Linked DNA regions of Homo sapiens: regions 1 and 2 are each linked to region 3. The links are contacts of gene promoters, found by promoter capture Hi-C in human tissues and cell types (Jung and others, 2019). All regions are on one chromosome and are shown on one strand. Each heading gives the region's core, a stretch centred on a gene start or on the middle of the fragment in contact. The rest is flanking DNA. Distances are from core to core; before and after follow the strand shown. Region 1 overlaps SND1 (staphylococcal nuclease and tudor domain containing 1). Region 2 overlaps SND1 (staphylococcal nuclease and tudor domain containing 1). Region 3 holds the start of LRRC4 (leucine rich repeat containing 4).

Evidence for each region. The method cuts DNA at HindIII sites, captures the fragments that hold promoters and counts their contacts. A contact is called where the count stands out against the background at its distance.
Region 1: a contact is called between a fragment that was not itself captured here and the fragment with the promoter of LRRC4 in region 3, in 3 of the 25 tissues and cell types used here (dorsolateral prefrontal cortex, hippocampus and pancreas).
Region 2: a contact is called between a fragment that was not itself captured here and the fragment with the promoter of LRRC4 in region 3, in 7 of the 25 tissues and cell types used here (H1 embryonic stem cells, dorsolateral prefrontal cortex, hippocampus and 4 more).

Annotation. Positions count from the first base shown.
Region 1 is chr7:127,936,026-127,940,575 of GRCh38, forward strand. The region is part of intron 15 of SND1 (staphylococcal nuclease and tudor domain containing 1); the gene reads left to right. Among named protein-coding and RNA genes, the nearest start is that of SND1-IT1, 59 kb to the right of the region's middle. The HindIII fragment of the contact is 3,683 bases long and covers 1,339-4,550 here.
Region 2 is chr7:127,959,496-127,964,226 of GRCh38, forward strand. All of the region lies in intron 15 of SND1 (staphylococcal nuclease and tudor domain containing 1), which reads left to right. Among named protein-coding and RNA genes, the nearest start is that of SND1-IT1, 36 kb to the right of the region's middle. RefSeq lists a silencer at 387-587 and enhancers at 484-563, 574-633. The HindIII fragment of the contact is 4,587 bases long and covers 185-4,731 here.
Region 3 is chr7:128,030,000-128,034,838 of GRCh38, forward strand. LRRC4 (leucine rich repeat containing 4) reads right to left here and starts at 1,438. Exons shown (of 2, transcript NM_022143.5): 1 at 914-1,438; 2 at 1-741. The coding sequence starts at 641. The region is part of intron 16 of SND1 (staphylococcal nuclease and tudor domain containing 1); the gene reads left to right. RefSeq lists silencers at 1,882-2,001, 2,652-2,721. The HindIII fragment of the contact is 14,553 bases long and covers 1-4,839 here.

The DNA.
Region 1 (4,550 bases), core at 1,930-4,429, 92 kb before region 3:
TTCCTGCACCCCTGTATGTAGAATGATCGCTTGGTCAGATGGGATAGCAGGTGGGGCTAGAGAAGTCAGCTGTAGCCAACAGGTCAGTGCCTCCTGAACGCTCTTGCCCTCTAGTCCTTTAAGCACCTGCCTTAGGCTTGGCTGGTGAGCAGGTGACCTTACAGCATCAGAACTGAGACTGTTCAAGGTCTCTCTGCCTGCTGCTGTGGCCTCCTCCTAAGCGTGCTGATTTCAGTCTCGGAGGCAGTCACAGACACTTCTTGTCCATAGTTAGCAAGGAAGCCAAGATCCCTGGGCAGCCTGCATTTGTTAAAAAGCATCCTTTTTCCTCATCTGGCCTTTAGTGAGCCCCACACGTTTCCTTCCATGAGAGCAAAAGTGGTTCACGCAGTTTTTATTTTCACTTGTCATGTGTGTCCCATTTTACTTTAGTATTTTGTCTAGGGGGAGATTGAGTCACATATTTGGAAATTATTTGGCTCTCAAGTCATGCTTTTATTTTTTACTTTCTTTTTCTTTTTTCTCTTGTTTCTTTTCTTGGAGACAGGGTCTTACTCTGTTGCCCAGGCTACAGTGCAGTGGCCCCATCATAGCTCACTGTAATCTCGAACTCCTGGGCTCAAGTAATCCTCCCTCAGATCCTGAGTATCTGAGACAGCAGGTGCATGCCACCACACCTGGCTAATATTGTTTTATTTTTTGTAGAGACAGGGTCTCAACTGTGTTGCCCAGGCTGGTCTTAGGGTCCTGGCCTCAAGCAGTCCTCTTGCCTTAGTCTCCCAAAGTGCTAGGATTATAAGCATGAACCATGACACATGGCCTCACATTTTTACCTAAAAGCCCCCAGTGGGTGTGGAGTATTTGTCTTATTACTATGAACTTTATATTGAGTGTCCTTATTGTAATTCCCTTATTAGATCTTAGGTATCAGGGTCATGCTGCAGGCACAGTTCAGGAAGTGGCCCTGTTGGATGAGCATAGCAGGTATCAAGGCATGGTGCCTGTAAACCAAATACTTTTCTCCTGAATTGGAAGAGAATAATAATTTGAGATTTCAGTGCAAAGTGATCTAAGGAGCCTTATATCAGATATTTGGAGTCTTCTGTCAACTCACTGAGTGAGTCCACCATGCCGTGTTTGCATTTCCTTAGTGTTAAAGGTGGTACCGCAGTAAGTTTGAGGAATTACAGGGTGAGGCAGGCAGGAAATGGATGCCAGTCACCTTGCATGGAACTCATAGTACAAACCATCTAGAAGGCAGCAGCCACTTGGCAGGGAGTTCCCATGTGGATCACAGCAGGTGACTTATAATTAACCAGTTACCTATTCATATGAAATAAGACAAGAAAATGAGACTTCCCTTTTCCTGCCCTTTAGCATTTTTCTTTCCCTCCCCCTTCCTCTCTTTCCGTCTCCCAACCCTTCTCCCTTCTCCTCTCCCTCTCCCTCCCCCTGTCCCTTCTCCTCTCTCTCTCCCTCTCCCTCCCTTTCTGGAGCTGGATTATGACAAAGGAGGCATTGAGAAAAGTTCTAAGTGTCTAGGATTTGATAAATGGTGGTGGGCTTGTGCATGGTGAACTAAAGGTTTGGCTGTGTGTCCTTTCACCCTGAATGCCTTTGAATGAAGTTCCTCATTTCCTTCTTTTCCTTTAAGATCTCTTCTCTAGCCAATCCTCATTGGAATATCAACTGCCTGTTTCAATAGACCAAAAACTTCTAATGAGAGGAGGGAAGGGAAGGTGAACAGGAATATCCTTCTCATCTCCTGGTCCCAGGAATGGTGGATCCCCATTGATTACCAGTGCCTAACTAAATTACACAATTAAAGCCAATGTATGTTTAAGTGAGAAATCCCATTCTGCTATCACAGAGGTGCTAATGAATCAGGCTGTTATTGTGGTTGTGTTTGCTAGGCTTCTATCCTTAATTAAGCAATTACAGGGTCTGCTGATACTTATGAATTCCTTTCAGATGCTTTAATTGAATTGCAACTTAATGGATATTTGTAAAGTGGGGTATTCTTTCTCTTGGGATATCCCAGTTTGATTCTGTCTCCATTGCCTACTTTCTGTTGGGTCCCATTACTAGAAATGGGCAGCTTAACATGAGACTTTCCTGGAGCTGCTCTAGTTCTTTACTTTTAAAGATATCATTATAGGAATTATAAGAATTATGTTCATGTCCGGGGATCCTGGAGAGTCACTTACAGGAAAGAATTAACACAATGAACAGATTTGGGTAGTGTTTTTTAATGAGTACAAGATTTTTACAAGCACAGATTAAGAAAAGTAGTCTTCAATAGATAAATTTTGGATGATACATAAATTAGTAGGATAACTTCTCCCTCGAATATCTTTTAGTCTAGTTATGTAGATGGCCATACAAATAATGTAAACAAGGAAATATGAAAGAGCAGTTATCAAAAGCATAGGCCACCTAGTATGAGAATACAGAGCAAATAACAATTGTTGAATGGAAAAGTTTTCCTCAGGGCGATGGCATTTGAGTTTCCGAGAAGATCTGCTACATTTTCTTTGGGCAGACTGGGTTTGATTCATCTAGGCAGAAGAAGTTGGCCTGTATCAGATCTCAGGAAGAGTTGCCTAAAAGAAATGGACATATTAATCAATCATTTTTCTCTCCGCTTTTGTATTGGTGTGTAAATCTCCCTCTTAGCTCTTCTGCTATTGAGCCTTCACTGCTCCACCTTCAGCTCTCCGTCTATGCAGGCACACTGTCACCCACTGGTCATGTGAATGAAACCTCCAATTACACCAGGATTATTTTCATCTTTACACCATGAATCATCCCCAGAATGAGCCTCATCATACTTGTGGGTCATTCAATTACATGGTTATTTAATAATTTTTTTTTATATTCAGTGGGCACAATGCTAGGAATACAGAAATGGATGATACAGTTCCAGCCTTTGAGCAAAGTAATTGTGTCTACTGGAGTAAAGAATGTATTGACATGAAGAAAAAAATATTTTAAAAGCATAAGGGTAAGCAAAACATGGCTTAAATACTATACAAATGAGAACAGCTCAGATTTTATAAAACAATAAGAGTAAATATGTAACTGCTGTCAAAAAGGCTGTTTCAAAACTCGGAAATACAGAACGCAGAGAGGAGTGGAGCCAGGTACTGACCCAGCCCAAGTCATTGCATTCCTGGTGGTACGGTGTACCATCTGAGGACCATCCTTTTAGGAAGGACATCAGGAAACTGCAGGTGGTCAGATCAGAGGAGGATGAACAAAGATGCTAAGAGCCTCAGCATGCCAATACCTGAAGATTGGGAGTAGGAATTAAAAGACAGACTTCCATGACATAATCTAGTGTTTCAGGGTAAAAGAGAGAGAAACATGATTTGTTCAGTACCCATTCCAGAGTAATAAATAAAGTCATCACTAAAAATAAGATTTGTTTGGCCTGGTTTAATGGCAGTCACAGACCTTGGAGCTAAAACACTTAAAGATGAATTCTTGCCCTCCTGCTTCCTAATTAATTATTTCCGTCAGACTGGCCTGCTTATCTTGGTGTGATGCTGGTGACCTGGAGGTGAGGGAGACAGCAAGGCCGATGTGGCATTTATGTGCCAGCCTATCTAGGGCCTCCTATAACTAGCAAAAGATAGTCCTAGTGGTGTCATCGCCTTCTATGGAGTCAGACTGTGGAGGATGGTGTGGCCTCCTGATTGGGGTGTTCAGCCCTTACCATCTACTGGGTTTTATGTGCCAAGAAAAGATAGATGTTGATTTACCCTTGCTGTTAGATGATAGGCCTGTGGATTAGCTTTGGATGGGTAGGTCAGTGAGGAGTTTCCTTCCTCCTGAATTCTCTGACTAGTGTTTCTACTCTTCTACTCTAAAGCGTTCTATTGTGCTTTTTACTCTTATGCTTTCATGTTTTAATACTGATGAGACAAGGGGAGAAAACATCCTGGATAGAAAATGAGGCCTGTCCTATGCAGAGCTAATGAGGCCAGTGGAGTAGTAGAGAAGGTCAGTCCTGTGAGCTTTTCCCTAGGTGTTCCTTTTCGGGCCCTTCTCCTTCCCTCCTACTTTAAAGCGCGTTCTGTCTGAGTCTATGCAGGGTTGTCTGGCTTGCCTTCCACCTGGTGGGCACTGGGGGATGGAATGGGAAACTTCCAGAAATCTGATGGCTTTTCTCTGTTGGATTATTTCCAAAAACAGCACCTGTCTCGTTGGTTGTGCCTAAATGCCTCAGTTCTAAGTCCCTTCTTGTGGCTTTCCCAGAGGAATACATTTCAGTGTAGATTATTCAACACTATCTTGTCAACCTGTGGGCATTTCCCAGCAGCCACTTAGTAGTAATGTTGACAAGCTACTGTGCTACTCACCAGAACTCCAGCCCTGTGGGGGAGTCCATTTGGTCAGACTAATAGTAGAAAATGGCAGGACCTGGATGCAGGAGAGGGAGTGTAAATGGTTTGGTAATTTGAAATTAAAGGTTAATGCTTTGAAATCTGGTAATGGGCAGCGCCAGGGTGAACAGTGCACACTGCTGTAAGACTTAATCCTGGTTG
Region 2 (4,731 bases), core at 1,228-3,727, 69 kb before region 3:
TCCTGCTCTTCCCACTTCACTGCCTCTACTCCTGTGTTGGGGCCTTTGCACTCTCTTCTGGATATCCTTAGGTTCAGTCCTTCTACTACTTCAGATCTTTGGTCAAATGCTACTTTCTCAATAAATGTTTCTCCAACCGTCCTCTTTAAAATCGCAAAACTACCCCATTCCCTCTCCCTCTTCCATAGCACTGTCACCATCCAACATGGTATGCATTTTACTGGCTTGTCTGTCTCTCTCCACCAGGATGTTAAATTGCGAGAAGGTGAGGATTTTGGTCTGTTTTGTTCATTGCTATGTATATCTCCCCAGCATGTAGAACAATGCCTGGCACATGGTAGGCACTTGATACATATTTGTTGAATGAATTGGCTCTAGTAGCCATGGTATTCCCCTATGATATGGAAATCTATGTTGTATCAGTTTTCATTTCACTCATTACTGGGTAAACATCACCCAGCAGAAGAGTTCATTGATGTTCCCTCTGGTTCCCCTGTTGCCTCTCGTCTGCTATCTATTCTTGCCCAGGTGGAAAAGAAGGAAGTGGAAACAGATCTGTTCTTCTAGCTGCTGGCCATTCGTCTCTGGAACTTACCGGGTGGCAAGACCAATCTAGCAGCACCTCTGCTTCTGTCGCTGCTTTCCCAGGCTCACATTACAATATCTAGGCCAATATTATCATTGCTGTCACAGACACCCTGTTTTTCTTAAGCTTCTAAAATGGATTCTCATTGCTAATTTCCTAGCACGATGGTGGGCATAGGCAGTACCTAAGACAGATAGTAAGTGCATCGTGTGGGACTACCCGCATTCACTTTATTGGTCCTTCCTCACTAAATGCCATTAGCAGCACACCGTCCCACCCCAGCTATTGCCACAACCAAAAATGACACCCAGCCCACACAAAACGTACACATTAGAAAACACTCTTTGGAGGTTGATACTGTTCCTCCTTGCAGATCTCCAATCTCTGGTAGAAGAAAGCAAGCATTGAATTACAGTCATCTAGAAAAGGGTGGAGTGCAGAAGTTTTGCTGAGCATTGAGTCTCCACCTGAGGTTAAGTAATGATGAATAATTAATAAAGTGCAATCAGCCTGGTTATATGAGGTTCTCCATTCAGCTATATTCTGTAGCCCTAGGCTTATCAGTAGCTGAGAAAATAGACATTAAATCTGTATCCACCATGATTCCTTTGTGTTGATGTAGGAAGAACAAATGGACCAGGTTGCAATCTATATTCAGATCTTCCCTGTGTTGTATTTTAGGAGAGAGATTAGGACCAGACTGAGAGTCTTTAAGGGATTATATCAGGTGCTGCAGTGCTACAGTGAAATTGAAATGAAAACTCAACTTCTGTGAGTTTCAATACTATTCTGCCAGCTGCCCAGAAACATCCTGGGATAAAGCTTAGGGGAATCCCAAGAGAAGTTTGGTCTTGGGAGAAGAATTTTTTAGTACCAAATGTGTCCATTCCTCTCCACCTGGACTTGGGAGGTGTAGGCACATCTCTGGCAGAGGGTGCCTCAAACCCTAACAAAGTCAGCTTTCCTTCTTCCTGCCAAGAGAGGGCATTAATTAAATACAGCCCTATCATTTTGGACAGTGTAAATTCACTCGTATGTGGGTCCACTGTATGTTTTTCCACAGCCCTAGCATTTTATCCTGATTGTTACTAAATGTATAAATAATGTAAAATATATACACACCTGCTTCACAAAATTAAAACTACAATACTTGGTTAACTTAGGAAGATCTAGTTGTAATATATTACATAAGTGTATTTTCTAAAAGAATCAATGAGGATTTTTTTCATACAGTAACTACAAATGGTGTTTACTTACATATTTTCTTCTTTACAAATAAAGCTGTATGATAGTAAGATCTAGATCCAGGCATCTTTATTCCGAGCCACTTGAAAAGCAAGCTGAAACTTGAGAACAGAAGAAACCTTAGGATGATAGCACAACAAATAAAATTAAATTCTTTGATTAAGTGTTTGCCACTGTAAAAAACACGTGCAAAAGCACTCATTTTCAAGAGAGGAGGGAAGAAAGCAGAACCTAAACCCAAAACAACCAAAATTTAAATACTACTTTTGCCATGTGAAATTGTCTAATCAGCCTCATTTTCTTCTATTGCCGTCATCAGCTTCTGTTTGTTCTGATGCTTCATTTTTAGTATCGTTGTGGGCTTATGAAAGCAGAAAGATTGCCTGAGTTGGAACAAGCTTTTCTACCATTTCCTATGTGTCCATTCTCAACCAGAATAAATCAGTGCAAATGCCAGTGTCCACTCCCTCGCCAGACCTTTGAGACCTAGTTGGAAGAAAAAGGGTATATTTTATCAAGCTACGTGAAAATCAACAGGACACCCTCCTGCAACAACAGAGTTGCCCTTTGTTGGCCGAAGCGCCTCTTATCATTACCTGTGAGAGCTGATTGGCCTGAATGCTCTCAGCACCTGCCCTGTGCATCACGTGATCGGATCCTATAAGTATCCTAAGATCATATTGCACAACTCTTAGAAATGAGTGAGAGAATTTAAAGGTAGAACAGCTACATTGGTACACATAATTTATGCCTTTTCTTGAGGTTACTAAAAAGAAAAAGTATTCCAGAGAGTTCTAATATAAAGCTGAGGAACTCTTTGTATAAGGGAGTATGATGTGTTCTCTCTCTGCTTGGAATTGCTGTGCTGGAAGGAAGATGGGGAAAGGGAATGAATATAGTCAAATAAATTAAGCCTTGAAACCCAAATAGTGCTGTGTAAGCAAACTGACTGCAAATCAAACAGAGGAGTGTTAGCAAAAGAATACACGATCTTGGTTGAGGCTGAACAAAACCAGGTTCTTTGTATATACGTATATATTTCTCTGGACGTGTGCAGAGTTGTTGCATTTCTACTCCCTTAATCTCAGACATCTTTGGCAAAATGTGTTATCTGTCCATGAAGAAGAAAACTGAAGAGTGTATTTCCCCCAAATGGCAAAGCGTAGGCTTTATCAAATGTAGACATGCCTGTTGGCAACAGAAAGCAGGATGTGTATGGCTTTTCTGTCTTTAGGAATGCCCATGTTTCCTATGTTTCTTACCATTTTTCTGGCTAGCATATAAATCTGAAAGGTTAGGTTATGGTGTGGGTCATAACCATCAGGCCCAGTCTATTCTCCATCCCCACTCTGCAGGCAGCTCTGACACTATTTCTGGAGCAAGCATTGAAAACTATCCGACTGTCTGGTTTTGTAGATGAGGAAACAGCACAAAGAAATGGAGTGGCATTGTCATAGTTACAGACTGTGTGAGTGGCAAAACAGAGGCTTCATCCACTGGACTTTCAGCTCTACAACTTGCAATCAGGCATAACATGTTCTTAACTTGCCTTTTTGAAATGACACCTCTCTGAGCCAAAGCTTCTCTAAGCATCAGTTCAAATGACTCCATGATCTCTTAGAGTCTGTAAAAAACTTGAGAGTAGAACATATTTTCTTCCTTCTTAGAACCTCAAGTCAAATCAACAATTACTTTATATTTATTGTGATGATCGCATTCTGTTTGATCTATTTTTCTCTAAGTTGTTAAACAGCCTTTGGCTAAAATCATTATGTTCTGACCTGAACAAGGAGATTGGGGCAGCTCTATTCTAAGCTGTGTGAAAATGCAAAGCATGGGCAGGGTGCAGCAAGTTGTTCACTTTGGATGGAATGTGGATGGTGGCTGAGTACCCAGAGATAAGACTAGAGCGGCATATTTCTTTTCTTTTTTTTTTTTTAATTATACTTTAAGTTTTAGGGTACATGTGCACATTGTGCAGGTTAGTTACATATGTATACATGTGCCATGCTGGTGCGCTGCACCCACTAACTCGTCATCTAGCATTAGGTATATCTCCCAATGCTATCCCTCCCCCCTCCCCGCCGCCACCACAGTCCCCAGAGTGTGATATTCCCCTTCCTGTGTCCATGTGATCTCATTGTTCAATTCCCACCTATGAGTGAGAATATGCGGTGTTTGGTTTTTTGTTCTTGCGATAGTTTACTGAGAATGATGGTTTCCAATTTCATCCATGTCCCTACAAAGGACATGAACTCATCATTTTTTATGGCTGCATAGTATTCCATGGTGTATATGTGCCACATTTTCTTAATCCAGTCTATCATTGTTGGACATTTGGGTTGGTTCCAAGTCTTTGCTATTGTGAATAATGCCGCAATAAACATACGTGTGCATGTGTCTTTATAGCAGCATGATTTATAGTCCTTTGGGTATATACCCAGTAATGGGATGGCTGGGTCAAATGGTATTTCTAGTTCTAGATCCCTGAGGAATCGCCACACTGACTTCCACAATGGTTGAACTAGTTTACAGTCCCACCAACAGTGTAAAAGTGTTCCTATTTCTCCACATCCTCTCCAGCACCTGTTGTTTCCTGACTTTTTAATGATTGCCATTCTAACTGGTGTGAGATGATATCTCATAGTGGTTTTGATTTGCATTTCTCTGATGGCCAGTGATGATGAGCATTTTTCCATGTGTGTTTTGGCTGCATAAATGTCTTCTTTTGAGAAGTGTCTGTTCATGTCCTTCGCCCACTTTTTGATGGGGTTGTTTGTTTTTTTCTTGTAAATTTGTTTGAGTTCATTGTAGATTCTGGATATTAGCCCTTTGTCAGATGAGTAGGTTGCAAAAATTTTCTCCCATGTTATAGGTTGCCTGTTCACTCTGATGGTAGT
Region 3 (4,839 bases), core at 188-2,687:
AGATTGGGCATGTCTTTAATGTTGCACATGCCCAAGTTCAGATACTTGAGGTTGAACAGCCCCTCAAAAGCTCCCTCAGAGATATACTCCAGCTTCTTGAGCTCCCCCAAGTCCAGGCGCATGAGGGAGGGCACCCGGTTGAAGGCGTAAGAGGGGATGCTTTCGATGGGGTTGTTGCGAAGCCAGAGCTCCCGCAGCTTGGACAGGTATTCAAAGGCCCCGCTAGGGATGACTGTCAGCCAGTTGTCGAACAGCTCCAGGGTGTTGAGGCTGGCCAGGCCGTTGAAGGCCCCCACCTCAATCTGCCGGATGGAGTTCCTGCCCAACTGCAGGACCTCCAGGTGGTGGAGGTGGCGGAAGGTGTCGGCCTGGATCATCTGGATGTTGTTCTCCATGAGGTTGAGGTACCGGGTGTTCGAGGGAATACCCTGCGGGACCTCGGAGAGGCCCCGGCGCGTGCACACCACCTTGCTGAACTGGTTACTGCACGAGCAGACGGAGGGGCAGTTCTGGGGCCCGGCTGAGGCGGCAGCAGCGATGGCTGCACACAGAATCCACACTTGCGCCGTGAGGTAGACGAACGGGAGCAGGATGGCATTCCAGGTGTGGTGGTGCACAGTTACCTGCCACAAGAGCTTCATGGTGTGGCACGTTCATAATTCACCATCGCCTGGGATTTTGGCTCGGAAAGGAGAACCAGCCCTACCCCGGCTTAAGTGAGCTAGGAGCTCCTCTTTCCATCTGGAGAAGGAGGTGGGGAGGGGGCGATTAGAGAGACGGAGCGGATCGGCCGAAAAAAATCCTGCCAAACTCGAGCGGCCCCTGGTCTCCCAACCCACCCTCAAGGCAAGCCCTCCGAAAGCTACGACTCTCCCACACTGCAACCGTCCCCACCCAGTTCGCCGTCACCTACCTCGGAAGGAAGGCAGGAAAGCACTGGCGTGGTGTCCTTAAGCTTTCTCCACGGGAGCTGGGCACCTCGTTCCCATTCCGACTTCTTAGTTTTAATTAACAAAAGGGGGAAGTGGTGGGGGCGGGGAGGGCAGAGGGGAGGGGAGGGGAGGGGAGGGAAGGGGTGGGGGAGACAAAATGGCCTCTAGTAAATCCGGAGCCGGAGCCGGCGAAGCCGCGGAGTTGAGGCGCGCCTGGGAGAGCCAAGGCCCGGCGGGCTATGCAGGTGCATGCCCCCCCCTCCGCCCAAGGAGCGGCGCCACCAGCGCTTCCCGGCTTTGTCCTTGGACCCTGGCACCGGCTCGCTCCAGCCGCGGGGGAAGGCGCTTCATCGCCAAAGTGCGCTCCGGCGGCCCCGGCCCGCTCTGCGGGCCGCCGCCGGAGGGAGTGCGGGGGCGCCCCGAAGCCGCCCAGGCCGCACTCGCTGGATGCTGCGCTCCCTCTCCCGGCGTCGGCCGCTCCGGGCCGGCGGCAGCTGATTGCGGTCGTGAGCTCGCGGAGCGGCGAGAGTTAAGAGGAGGTGTTCGCGGCGCCTTCGCCCTCCCCAGACACACACCCCCTTTCTCCTCGCCTCTTCTCGGAGGGTGGAAGAGACAAAAACGGGGGGTCAGTTCTCCAGTCCGCCGGCTGCCGGCACGCGGGGCGGCGCTCCGTCCGGCCCCCGAGGACCAGCGGCGTGGCGGCTGCGCTCGGACCCGGTCCGCCGGCCGGAGGAGCGCGCGGCGCCCGCGGTCGCGCCCGCACCGCAGGCCCCTTCAGAGAGTCCGGGGGCGGGCGCGGGTCCGGCGGCGGCGGCGGCCGCAGCCCCCGGCGGCGCGCAACCGCCCGTCGCCGCCCGCCGCTGCCCGGCCCCCGGCGCGCCGCCGGCTCCGGCTTTGTGCGGAGGGAGCGAGTTCGCGGCTTCGGCTCCCGGCGCCCTCAGTGGCCGCGCCGCCAGCGGACTGCTGCAGCGGCGTGAGCAGCGGGGGTCGCGGCTGCGGGAAACGCTCCGGAGCCCAGGAACATAGTCCCCGCTGGCTAGCGGCGGCAGCAGCAGCAGCGGGGCCCCTGCGCGCGGCGCCCACCGTCTCCTCCTCGCGCCGGGCTCGCGGTGTTGCAGGCGGCAGCCACGCAGACTGCTCTCTCATCCTTTTGTCCTTCAGTCAGAACGTGAATGTACTGCTGACGCATACTGTTCTGGGAGAAGATTAGCGTGATGCAGTGCTCTTATGTATTAGCGCCGCTCCCCCTCCGTCGCCTGCCTCGCGGGGTTAACGCCGGCGCCTTCCAGCGCCGCGCCGGCCGGCGCCGCGCAGCCCCGCGCCTCCGGCCGCCCGTCTTCCTCTTTCCTCCTTCCTTCCTCCTCTCTTCCTCTCTCCCCCTCCCCCCTCCCCCCTCCCCGGGCCGCTTCCTCCCCGCCCCCTCTAGACGAGCGGAGCGGGGCCAGGGCGAGCGGGCGAGCGAGCCGGAGTGAGCGTCAAGTGAGGGGCCGCGCGCAAGTCGCAGGCGTTCGCAGCTATTTTGGGCCGGTCGGAGGGAGCAGTTGGGTGGCCGCTGATAGGCTGGAGCGGCGCGGGGCTGCGGCGGGAGAGCCCGCGCCGGCCCCCGCCCTCCGGCCCGCACCCGGGGCCCCCTGGCTCTGAAGAGCGGGGCTCAGGGGCCCGGCGGCCCGCGGCGGGGCTGCTGCATTTGGCCTGCCTCTCGCCCGGCCCGCGTCATCCTCACCCCCGCTGACTGCTGACGGGGCGCGGACTCGCGTTCGGAGTTCGGAACTGCGTGGTGGGGACTCGGGGGACGGCGGCCGGGGCCACGAGGCTCCCAGGACCGAGAGCCCGGGCTTCGCTGCTGCACTGCCGCCAGCCCCTCCTTCGCTTTGCCTCACCCCTCCTGTGCTCTCACTGGGGCTTTAAATGAGGGTTTCCTTAATGAGGGTTGCGGGGGCGGGAAACAGTGGCAGGAATGACCAAGTGTGATGAGCTGGGGAATGGCAACCTGGGACAGCACAGAGGCCGGCAGGAAGGATTGAGGTGAACTCCCGGAGCCCACGACACAGCCCGTTCATTCATGGAGCTGCAGCCGCGGCTTCTCAGTCTTCGCTGGCCGGAGTCGCCCCTTGCTCCCCGCTGCCCCCAGAGAACTGGGGGAAGGGAGGCGGGCGGCTGAGCCCCCTGCCCTGTGAGCTCGCCAGCCCTTCCTTGGCTAGGACTCTGAGAAGAACTGCGTAGCAGCCAGGGGTAGCGATTGGGAGTGGGGGTGGAATTCTTGCTCCTATTTCTGGTAGGAGACCCTAAGGCATTTGACAGACTAGTGTAGGAGAAGGGGACTAGGTCAGCTTTTTCCCACCCCCCTGAAAAAAGACTGCCCCTTTCTCTGCCGACTGTGGGTGAGGCAATCTAGCTGAGCCCTGGGAAGCCGGTCCAGTAGAATATAGCATGGTTTAATATCCCTTCCCTTCAAGAGCTGCCTCCAGACTCCTCAACCCACCCCTCTCCCCGTGTGATTTCTGGCAGGCTCGCTTGATAAACCCTCATCACCTGCGCGTGGGCTGTTGCTTAAGAACGAGGAGGTCCCAGATTTCTCAGCTCTCTGGTTTCTACCACACCTATTTCTGAGTATTGTCTTTTGCCCAGTAACCTGAACCTCTTTAAATACGCCATGGAATACTTGAAGTCCTGGAAACGGTTCCTTTGTAGGCAAGTTGGAGTCCCCATTCTTTGCCAAGACCTTTCTGTTATCATTTGCTGTCAAATAATAACCTTGTTAGTTTCTGTTTATTGAACCCTTACTCTGTATTCCACTGCAACCCTATTATTCATTTTATATGAGTCAAACGTTGCCTAGGGTCACTAGTAAGTGATAGTGGATTTGAGCCTCAGCACGTCTCAGATGTCAAGAAACTTGGGTGTGGAAGTGATTCCCCAAAGTATTCTCCTAGTGGGATGAGAACTCAGGTTTCATTCATCCACTTCAATAGTCATTTACTGGGATGCTTATCTACTATGTACTATCCACCATACCAAGAACTTATATCTGTTCTTGTTTAATCTTCATTTACCCAGTGAAAGTAATTGCCACACTTGTCTCCATTTCACAGATGAAGGCACTTAGCTTAGGCAGGCAAATAACTTGCCCAAGGTCACACACTAGAAAGTAACAGAGCCAGCCTTTCCATCCAGCCTTCAAACCCTGAGTCCGATGTTTTCATCACTAACAGGAATGCCCGCTGTGTCTACTCTTCATAGAGTAAATGGTGGAGGCAAGTGGAGGGGGGAGGAGAGAGAGACTGTAGGAAAGTTCAGTGAAGGATGTGTCAGAGAAGTAAGATGAAGGGTAGGAGACGGGCTGAGAAAATGAACTCTCATCAAGAAAAAGAATGAGGGAGACATGGAGGTAAGTCAAACCCTGATACTGGGGTTTAGTTCCATCTGGGCACTCAGACTTTCTGGTGAGAGGTTCTGCTCCTTTATAGCTGGCACCGACCTAGTAGAGTCATCTATTGCCTGAGGAGACCCCTGGCCAGGGTCTGGATGGCAGCGATTAAGTATGACTATCCTTCCCTCCTCAGGCAACAGGGTCTCTGCCTGGGCTGGTCCTCTGCTACTGTAGGCAAACTCAAACCCTGTCTGTTCAGCTCCAGGCTCCACAAATGAAAGCTGCTGCCCCGCACTATAAAGGTAGATGAAAGTGGGGGCCGAGTTGGGTCAGACCAGTACTTAGTAATGAGGTTGTCTCTCAGTAAGTATTTGTGACTGCCATCCATGAAGGTGACTATGCCCAAGCTCTGTCGAGCTCTACATCAGGCTGCTTTGCCCCCTGTAAGCCAGCTGGGCCAGGAAAGCACCACTGAACCTACTAACTGGACTACAGAGGAGGCTGTGGGGCCGTCGTTGCACACAGCCCTTCTGAGCT